Regions from separate parts of the Homo sapiens genome. Here all the other regions are linked to region 3. Evidence: promoter capture Hi-C in 16 types of primary human blood cells and fetal thymus (Javierre and others, 2016). All regions are on one chromosome and are shown on one strand. The core of a region is centred on a gene start or on the middle of the fragment in contact, and the rest is flanking DNA. Distances in the headings are between cores, read along the strand shown.

What was found. Contacts are between HindIII fragments. The CHiCAGO score rates a contact against its expected background, and 5 or more counts as called.
Region 1: a contact is called between the fragment with the promoter of CIAO2A here and the fragment with the promoter of PDCD7 in region 3, in 5 of 17 cell types (naive CD8 T cells, total CD4 T cells, fetal thymus and 2 more). The highest score is 13.7, in naive CD8 T cells.
Region 2: a contact is called between the fragment with the promoter of RAB8B here and the fragment with the promoter of PDCD7 in region 3, in 2 of 17 cell types (naive CD8 T cells and fetal thymus). The highest score is 11.1, in naive CD8 T cells.

What each region holds. Positions count from the first base shown.
Region 1 is chr15:64,092,471-64,095,685 of GRCh38, reverse strand. It overlaps CIAO2A (cytosolic iron-sulfur assembly component 2A), which reads left to right and starts at 1,848. Exons shown (of 5, transcript NM_032231.7): 1 at 1,848-2,041. The coding sequence starts at 1,918. RefSeq lists enhancers at 1,436-2,165, 2,526-2,575, 2,211-2,773. The HindIII fragment of the contact is 2,171 bases long and covers 133-2,303 here.
Region 2 is chr15:63,187,798-63,191,076 of GRCh38, reverse strand. It overlaps RAB8B (RAB8B, member RAS oncogene family), which reads right to left and starts at 1,471. Exons shown (of 8, transcript NM_016530.3): 1 at 1,329-1,471. The coding sequence starts at 1,452. LOC101928972 (a long non-coding RNA gene) reads left to right here and starts at 1,646. Exons shown (of 4, transcript XR_932355.4): 1 at 1,646-2,231. RefSeq lists a silencer at 1,387-1,716 and an enhancer at 1,897-2,046. The HindIII fragment of the contact is 3,523 bases long and covers 1-2,833 here.
Region 3 is chr15:65,131,942-65,135,269 of GRCh38, reverse strand. It overlaps PDCD7 (programmed cell death 7), which reads left to right and starts at 1,462. Exons shown (of 5, transcript NM_005707.2): 1 at 1,462-2,358. The coding sequence starts at 1,489. RefSeq lists an enhancer at 1,177-1,276 and silencers at 1,567-1,776, 1,837-2,236. The HindIII fragment of the contact is 3,462 bases long and covers 710-3,328 here.

The DNA of each region.
Region 1 (3,215 bases), core at 599-3,098, 1.0 Mb after region 3:
GTCTGAATGAAGGAGTGTCACTAAAATGTTTGAAAACCTCTACATGCCATCTACCCATGCCAAGCACAATGCCCTCACAGAGAGTCAATAAATATTTCGATTGAGGTATCTGAACAAGACTAGAAGAAAGCTTCACCACTTATTCCTTGAGCAACATTCAGTTAATTCATTAAGAAATACAGATACTGAGCATCTACTGTATGCCTGGCACCTTGCTGTGAGTTTCAGATACAGAAATCAGGTATTTAATCGACAGTTCGACATGTTCAATGCTATGGTGCCCTGTGGGAGCACAGGGAAAGAGATAATCAATTCTGCTTGGAGAAGTAGGGAGGCCTCACAGATGAAGTGAGGCCTCAGTGTCCTAGATTTGGCTGGAAAAATGTTAGGATTATCCTCTCAATTGCTGTGGAGTAAGTGGAGTGGAATAGACGGCAGGGAAATTATTGAACCCTGACCAAAATTTCCTTGGGACCTAAGCAATTCATTGTCTGGTGATCCTAAGGCCTACATTAACTAGACAAACAAGACTGGAGTTTAAAGATAAATGGGCATGTTAGCATGGGACAATTCTGCAAGATAATCCTATCTTCTCAATAGAAATGGCATTTGTCACCAACTTTGACAAGAGGTTTAGTTAGTTTGGTTGTAACTGCAAATTCAGGGATGGACTCCCTCACAGGTCATGTGAGCTGTTTGAAGGCGGGGGCAGCGTTTTATCTTTGTATCTTCCATGCCTATGGATCACCTATGGCAAATTAGTACCTACAAATTTGATCGGAGGGATGGATGGATAAAATAAAATCGATTTTGTTACTGGCATCCATCACACCCACGAACACCAGAGGGCTTAAGATACACTTTTTTTTTTTTTTTTTTTTTTGAGGGAAGTCTCGCTCTTCTCCCCCAGGCTTGAGTGCAATGGCTCGATCTTGGTTCACTGCAACCTCTGCCTCCTGAGTTCAAACGATTCTCCTGCCTCTGCCTCCCAAGTAGCTGGGATTAAGGCCCCTGCCACCACGCCCAGCTAATTTTTGTATTTTTTAGTAGAGACGGGGTTTGCCCATGTTGGCCAGGCTGGTCTCGAACTCCTGACCTCAGGTGATCCGCCCGCCTCGGCCTCCCAAAGTGCTGGGATTATAGGCGTGAGCCATCGCGCCCGGCCAAGATACACTTTTAAGGATGGCGATCTCCATTATGTCACCACTGTACACATTAGACACGGGAAAACTTATGTTCTAAGTTGTCTTTGGAGGCCATTAGCAGAAATATTCGTTCAAAGGTGGGAAGCTGTGCTGGACTGAGTCCCTTAGGAGACGAGAAAGCCAAAAAGCCCTCCCCATGCCATACCTGACTACCTCACTGGCTTCCCATGACATCCCTTTTCACAGCAACTGAAACCTACTTCCTGTCCGATCAGGAAGTAAGAAAGACGTTGGCTGTCAGCGGATCCCGCGGAGAAATAATTGTAAAGAGTCTCCGTGCTGGAGAACTCAAGATCTCCTTTCCCCTACCCCTTCAGGATTCATCTTTAACTTATCACGGATACTGAGTGAGTCAGTCGCGGTTAACAGACCGTTACATCCACTTCTACCAGGCGGACACTACAAGTCCCAGAATACAATTCGCTGCCTTCCGAAGAAAATAGCTCACGCATCCCAGCATGCAATGTGCTGACGAGCCGCGAAGATTGTTTTTGTCCCGCCGAAATCGAGCAAAGCACGCTGGAACTTGTAGTCCTTGAGGCCCCTTCCCTAGGTCCTTCGAGCTACTCCGTCTGGCCCCGCCTTTTCTCTGCTCTCCTGAACCTTTAGGCTTGTCTCGGCCCATTTGAAGACCAGGAAGTTGATCAATCCCGAGGCTGCTGAGAGACGGTGGCGCGATTGGGACAGTCGCCAGGGATGGCTGAGCGTGAAGATGCAGCGGGTGTCCGGGCTGCTCTCCTGGACGCTGAGCAGAGTCCTGTGGCTCTCCGGCCTCTCTGAGCCGGGAGCTGCCCGGCAGCCCCGGATCATGGAAGAGAAAGCGCTAGAAGTTTATGGTAATTAATTTTACCCAGCACAGCATTTGGCGTTATAGGTGCAGGCCGGAGCTGAGGGGTGCGGGGATGATGGCCTCACCTGAGGGCTGGGAGGGGAGACCTTTTTTTTTGTTTGTTTGTTTGTTTGTTTTTGGCCAGATCTTGTCCGGGGCGTAGCAGGCGCTTTCTTCGGGGTCCTAAGTCACGTGGGGGGTGTGGGTCTTTCTGGGAACTGGGCTCTTCGTAAACCTGGGGCAAGCCGAACCCAGAGGTCTTAAAAGCTTCATTCTCCACGTGTGGCCTACGTCTTAGTAACCATTCCAAGACTTGTGGGGAGACCACAAGTCTAGGGTGCCTGGTTAGGAAGCAAAGCTGGCCTGATTGCACTACTAGAGCCTCGTTCTCTAGCTCCTGGACACGCACTCTTGCTACCGCTGAGGGCGCTTGTGGGTGACAGTCGAGTTGGGGACTGGCCCAAGGTCACAGCCACTCTATCCGGCAAAGTCAGTAAGCAGAGGTCCCCGAAAGAAGAGAACGAGATTGGCTTCTTGTAGCAAGGCCTTGTGTACACACACATAACGCACACACACACATACACACTCTTCCATGTTGCATATTAAATATTTTCTGTTTAACCCTTGGGGCCATCTTTATTGTACAAATGAGGAAACAAAGGTTAAAGAACTACCTGGAGGTCACACTGCCAGTAAGGAACAGAGCCAAAAAGCAAAGGCTGTGCCTACTGGTTCTAACCGTAATGCACTTTCCACCACTTCACAATTGCCTTACAACTTTTTGTTTGTTTGTTTTTTTAATTATGTTGTATTGTTTTTGAAAACCGAAAAGACTGGATATAATATTGAGAGATCTAACCATAGAATACAAATATAATTCAAGTAAGGATTATAGGCCAGTAGAAGGAAGCCAGGGTTAGGAAATACTCTGGGAGCTAATTTGGTTGACCTCTCTTACTAGAGGCAGGACTTACCTAATCAGCCTCCAGGCAGATGATAATTGTGAGTAAAATGATCTCCACAAAGCAGACCACATCCCTGTCCTGCCAGATCTCTGTCCACATAATCTAGGGATGGTAGGGCACTGGAGATACAACTTTGGAAGAGAGTGACTCTAGTCTTCAAACTGATATTGAAGGAAACCCATATATGCAAAAATAGAGTATGTAATAGAAGGCTGT
Region 2 (3,279 bases), core at 222-2,721, 1.9 Mb after region 3:
CAGGAGAAATGATGTTAAGGTGGTCACTTCTAAAACAGCTTAAAACCAGCTTTGACTTGGTCTTCAGTTTATGATAAGTTAAGAGATCTTATTACCTGAACACAGTGTCTTCCAGTACAAAAGTAGAAAGGACAGCTCCCAGCCAGGATCAGAAAAACTCTTGATTCAATTGGAAGTAACTGAGAGGTATATCACATGTTGTGATTCACTTAACAATAATTAGAACCAAAGCAAAATATACAGGGAGGCAGGTAGAATGTAAGTTCATTTCCTTGGCTGAGAAGCTGTTAAACATTCAAACCGAAGGATTTAAAATACTGAGAAGTCTTGCTTCTCAGGAGATGGTAGTAAAGAGGTGAACCATATTTTCCTGACCACATCATTTCCAAAAGTCACCAATTCCCTTAACATCCATTAACACTCACAGAACAAATTAACGCTCTATAGACATTATTCCATCATTAGTCACATTTTGCTTTCTCCTGCACTTGATCCAAAGGAAGTGAAGAGAAAATGGTAATCAGTTACTATAGCAAGTCTTGCGCCCCACTACTTTCCATTTCCTCTCTTTTCCATCTCCTCTGTCTTCTCTGCTCAACCTCCCTTTACTATGATGTTGCTTCCTCTTTTCCTTTCTGTCTCACACCCAGATCCCTTTACTTTCTCCATCAAGTATCCTCATTCTGCCCTCTGATCCCTTGAACTCTTCTTCCACCTACAATTTTCTTCTGTCCCCTCCTACGACATCTCAGTCCAGACCTCCTGTGGCCAGCCGTCCCCTTCTTCCTCACCTCCTGACCGCTCATTCCCCTGAATTCCCTTCCAGTTGCCTGGTTCTCACCTCTCTGTCCCTTGTGTCCTCTGTCCCTTTACTTCACATCCCTCTCATTGCCCCCATCCCTCATTTCCCCCTTCACATTTCCTTCCTCTCCTGTCTTTTAATCATTGGCACGTCCACTATCCCCTTCTCTCTACATGAGATTTCCTGAGTCTTCCCCCCAACACATTTTGTCCCTCAAAGACCCCTCCCTGTCAGTCTCCGAACCCTCTCGTTCCCCCAATACCCCTAGTCCTTGTTCCTCTGTTCCCCTTCCCGTTCCTTTGCCCCCAAGTTCCCCCTTCGCCCTTAGCCTCACGTTCCCGCTCGCCTCTCTCCCTCACGCCCTCGCCCCTCTCCCTCACGCCCTCGCCCCTCTCAGTGCCCCCGCCACCTTGCAGTCCCCGGGGTCTCCTCTCCCGGGCTCCCAAGCGCCCCCCGCCCTTTCCCCGTCCCCTAGTACCCGCCCCCCAATTCTCTACCCGGTCCCGGGCCGCGGCCCCTCCCTCACCGATGGTGGAGATGAAGGTGGTGTTGAAGGCGTCCTCTGAGAAGCGGAACAGGAGGCAGGTCTTGCCTACCCCCGAGTCGCCGATCAGCAGGAGCTTGAAGAGATAATCGTACGTCTTCGCCATCTTCTCGCTCCGGCCCTCTGACCGGGGAGCCAGAGGAGGCGGTGGAGAGAGGCGGGGAGGGGGCCGCGGGCGAGGGGGCGTGCCCGCCAATCCGCCGCTGCTCGCCCCGCCCCACGCCCCGCCCCTCCTCTCGGAGAAGGCCTGCGCGCCCCGCCCCGTGCGGCCAATCGGCGAGGGCTTCGTCATCACCGCCCGCGCCCCGGGACTTCATGGGACTTGTAGTTCCTCCGGGGAGCCTCGGGCGTGCCCCGCGAGGACTGTCCAGGCGGCTCCAGCGGATAAAAGACCTGCTATGGGCGGGGTGACAGGGTGGAGGCGTTTCCACCCGAGCTGGGAAGGGAGGCCCCGTTTCGTACTCTGCTGGTCGAGCCGCGGGAACTTAACTTTGTTATTTCTTTGTGTGCAGACGCCTTCCAAATCCAGGACCTCAGAATCAGAGCCCCGTAGTTCCCGCATCTCTTCCGCCGAGACCTGGAGCAGAGATGCTTTCTTTCCTTGGCGCTGCTGTGGCGCAGCCTACGGGTTATCTGCAGAGGGCATTATCCAGCTTCTCCCCGAGGCCATGCCCAGCACCACTATAACCCCCTCCCGCAGCCCCTCAGTCACAGAGCTGAGAAAGAATGGTTACCATGCTAACTCGAACCTCACTCGTGCCCCCTTCTTCACGCCACACAGACCAGAGCCAAATACAATGAGTATTTAGAGAATCTGCTACGCTGATCGCTCCCCTCTCCTCGCAGGAGGATGGATTTTTAAATCTGGGAAGTCTTGTGCTACAGGTCTGTGCCCCATGAAACTGCAAGCATCCTGTGAGGCGGGCCACGGGAATTTAGAGAGTAAGATTTGAATTTAGTCTTGGCTCTGCTGCAAAACCGCTGTGACAAGTCACACAGGCACTGGACATTTCAGTTTTCTCATCTGTAAAATGGATATGAAACAAGATACTTCATAGGGTTCCAGTGAAACTTAAATACTAAATGTGAAAGTTCTTTGAAACCCATAAGGCACTGTTAGCAGTGATGGTAATATTCATTACTCTTCAGTAGGCTCTCACTTAATTGATGACGAATATAGGGAGGAAACAGCATTCTGTTATACTCAAGTTAATCCTTTATTATTTATTGTCTTAGGCTAATTCTCTGTTTTGTGGATGTATTGTTCAGTCCCCTTTCATTTGCTAGTGGCAGAAACCCAACCGGATTAGCTGTTGTGAAAGGGGTGTTGACTGGTTCAGGTAATGTGGAAGCAAAAGGCTAAGAAGGTGTGGGACTAGGAGTCCACCCTGCCAGGGCTCTGTGTCTCTCATCTGTTGTTCTCCCTTCGAAGTTTTAATTTCTAATATGTCAAATACCGACAGGTAAAACCCACATGAAAAAAAGCTTCTTGGAGTCTTCAATAAGTTTTAAGAGGATGAAGGGGTCTTGAAACCAAAGTATTTGAGAACCACTGGTCCAGACATTTACCTTAGCTATAAGGAAACACCTTCTGGAAGGCTAGAGGTTATTAAGGGAACCAGTGGACTCCACCATTAGTGGAATAAGAAAAGGGGGGGGGGGAAAAACCGTGGACAGTTAGTTGAACAAACCAGCAGGCTTTTCTAAGGACACATACTGTGTGCCTTGTGACTTTAGGAACAGTGCCACTGATAATCCATTCTCAGTTGCATTGTGGCAGAAGACTTAGTTGGCCCTAGAATTGGCCTTCATTTTCTATGCGGGTAAAAGATGAAATGTGTCATCATTAACTGATTGATCATACAGTAGCCAGAGGGCTGCTGCTGCTGCTGCTGCTGCTTACGGAATGTCTCATTCCTAGAGTCCACTAGAT
Region 3 (3,328 bases), core at 213-2,712:
CGGGAGGCTGAGGCAGAAGAATGGCATGAACCCAGGAGGCAGAGCTTACAATGAGCCAAGATCACGCCACTGCACTCCAGCCTGGGCGACACAGGGAGACTCTGTCTCATAAAAAAAAAAAAAGAAAGAAAGTGGCCAGGTGTGGTGGCTCACACCTGTAACCCCAGCACTTTGGGAGGCCAAGGTGGACGGATCACCTGATGTAAGGAGTTTACGACCAGCCTAGCCAGCATTGTGAAACCCCCTCTCTACTAAAAACACAAAAATTAGCCAGGCGTGGCAGCAGGGGTCTATAATCCCAGCAACTGACTAGGGAGGCTGAGGCACCAAGAATAACTGGAACCTGGGATGCAGTGGTTGCAGTGAGTGGAGAGTGCGTCATTGCACTCCAGCCTGGGTGACAGAGGGACTCTGTCTCAAAAAAAGTGGGGGGTGCACGGGACTTGGTTGACCTGGATGGCATGCAAGGGGTGGGGAGGGACCAAGGAGGTGCTGGGTCTATGGGACTTGCTCCTATGTATCCATCAGTGATCTGGTTGGCGCCATGGAGGCTGGGGCGAAGGCGGAGGGGGGGTGGGGGGTAGCGGGGAGCTAGGTTGTAAATTGACAGTTGTCCCCAGGCAATCCCCTGGTATGGGAAAGTTCCAGAGGTCCCTGGTTTAAGCTTCGGTCCTTGGAACTAATAAGCGAACACATAATTAGATAAGCTTACAGTGTAGAGAGTGTCTGGTGGAGAGAAGGTAAAGGTTAATTGGATTTTTTTTTTTGACAGGTGTCATTCTGTCGCCCAGGGTGGAGTGCAGTGGCGTTATCGTGGCTCATTGCAGTCTTTACCTCCCAGGGCTCAGGTGATCCTCCCACCTCAGCCTCCCCAATGGCTGGGACTACAGGCCGATCTCGCCTGCCTCGGCCTCCCAAAGTGCTGGGATTACAGACGTGAGCCACAGCACCCACCCTATAATTGCATTCCTAAAGAGCTAAATAGGAGGTGGGGTGAAAGGAGAAAAGTAAAAATAATTCATTTTTCTAAGAAAATGGGTAGTTGGTCACACTCCTATTTACTAGGGCCTTTGCACATGTTCTCATCTGCACTGTGCTTCCCTCTCTTTTTCTATTTAACTATTTATCTTCCAGATCTCAGCTGCAGCCGCAGTTTCTTAGGATAACCTTCTCCAACTTCTCGAAGATACTCACCATGATTAATTGATTAGTGTGTTATACTAGGCAGATAGTTCCACGAAGAGAAGCTCTGTATCTCTCAGTCTCACTGTATGCGGAGTGGGTAGCTCTGCACCTAGGATGCTCAATAAGAACGGTATTTATGAACTGAACGACAGAAGGTTGAACGACTGCCCACTTATGCACTGAGCCTTCCGGAGGGACGAGTCTACAGGGGTCGCGCGTCGTAACGACGTCACTTCCGTCGGAAGGTTCTCATGAGGAGCCACTCAGATTCCTGTCACTTCTCAAAGCATCTCCGTCGTGAACATGGCCCTGCCACCATTCTTCGGCCAGGGTCGCCCAGGCCCACCGCCCCCGCAGCCGCCGCCTCCTGCTCCTTTCGGCTGTCCGCCACCGCCGCTGCCCTCCCCGGCTTTCCCGCCGCCTCTCCCCCAGCGGCCCGGCCCTTTTCCGGGGGCCTCCGCCCCCTTCCTTCAGCCTCCGCTGGCTCTGCAGCCCCGAGCCTCCGCGGAGGCCTCCCGCGGCGGAGGCGGCGCTGGCGCCTTCTACCCGGTGCCACCACCGCCGCTGCCTCCTCCGCCGCCCCAGTGTCGGCCCTTCCCGGGGACCGACGCCGGCGAGCGGCCGCGGCCACCGCCTCCCGGCCCGGGGCCGCCCTGGAGCCCGCGGTGGCCTGAGGCGCCGCCGCCGCCGGCCGACGTGCTCGGGGATGCGGCCCTCCAACGCCTGCGCGACCGGCAGTGGCTGGAGGCGGTGTTCGGGACCCCGCGGCGGGCAGGCTGTCCGGTGCCCCAGCGCACGCATGCCGGGCCCAGCCTTGGCGAAGTGCGCGCGCGATTGCTCCGGGCTCTGCGCCTGGTGCGGCGGCTGCGCGGCCTGAGCCAGGCCCTGCGCGAGGCCGAAGCCGACGGCGCGGCCTGGGTCCTGCTGTACTCCCAGACCGCGCCGCTGCGCGCGGAACTGGCCGAGCGGCTACAGCCGTTGACCCAGGCTGCCTATGTGGGCGAGGCGCGGAGGAGGCTGGAGAGGGTCCGGCGCCGCCGGCTGCGGCTTCGCGAGAGGGCCCGGGAACGCGAGGCCGAGCGGGAGGCAGAGGCCGCGCGGGCAGTGGAACGCGAGCAGGAGATTGACCGCTGGAGGGTGAAGTGTGTGCAGGAGGTGGAGGAGAAGAAGCGGGTGAGAGCAGCGGCCGCTCATGGGGGTAGGAGTGGTGGTGGTTGGAACCTGGAGCAGCAGGAGGCTTTAAACTTCCATTTCCCAGGGCTAAGCCTCTGTTTTACGCGCAAAATGAAGCGATAGCTAACCTTCCCAGCTCATACCACCATGTTAATTTTGTGTTAATGATGTGTGGTACACAAAAGTTCCAGGTGCACTGTAAAATCCTGTAAACACAAAGTATAGGATTACACGGTGGCACTGCACGAATGACAGGTCTCCCCTATCCTGCTCCAACATTGTCCACTTACTCTCAAAACCAGTAAGTGTCTAGTTCCTTGTGTCTTGTACTGCCCTAGGTGGTTTTAAGAATACAAAATACAGGCCGGGCGCGGTGGCCCACGCCTGTAATCCCAGCACTTTGGGAGGCGGAGGCGGGTGGATCACGAGGTCAGGAGTTCAAGACCAGCCTGGCCAAGATGGTGAAACCCCGTCTCTACTAAAAATACAAAAATTAGCCATGCGTGGTGGCGGGCGCCTGTAATCCCAGCTACTCTGGAGGCGGAGGTTGCAGTGAGCCGAGATCGCACCACTGCATTCCAGCCTGGGCGACAGAGCAAGACTCCGTCTCAAAAAAAAAAAAAATAGAGAACTTGGGGACCCTACCTCAAGGAATATATATACTCTAATTAGCTGATGGGGCAATAGTGATTTCCCTAGGATTCTTTTGTTTACAAGTTTTAAACCATGTATCCCCAGGTTCAGCAATGGTGTTTCGGAGCATTTACTATATATATATATATATATACACATACATACATATATATACACATACATATATGTATGTGTATATATATGTATGTATGTGTATGTGTGTATATATATGTATGTATCTGTGTATATATAGAGAGAGGTGTGCTAAGGTCATTACATATACCAGATTTTGAATCTTTATAACAGCCTTGAGAAGTAGGAAGTATTATGCTAATTT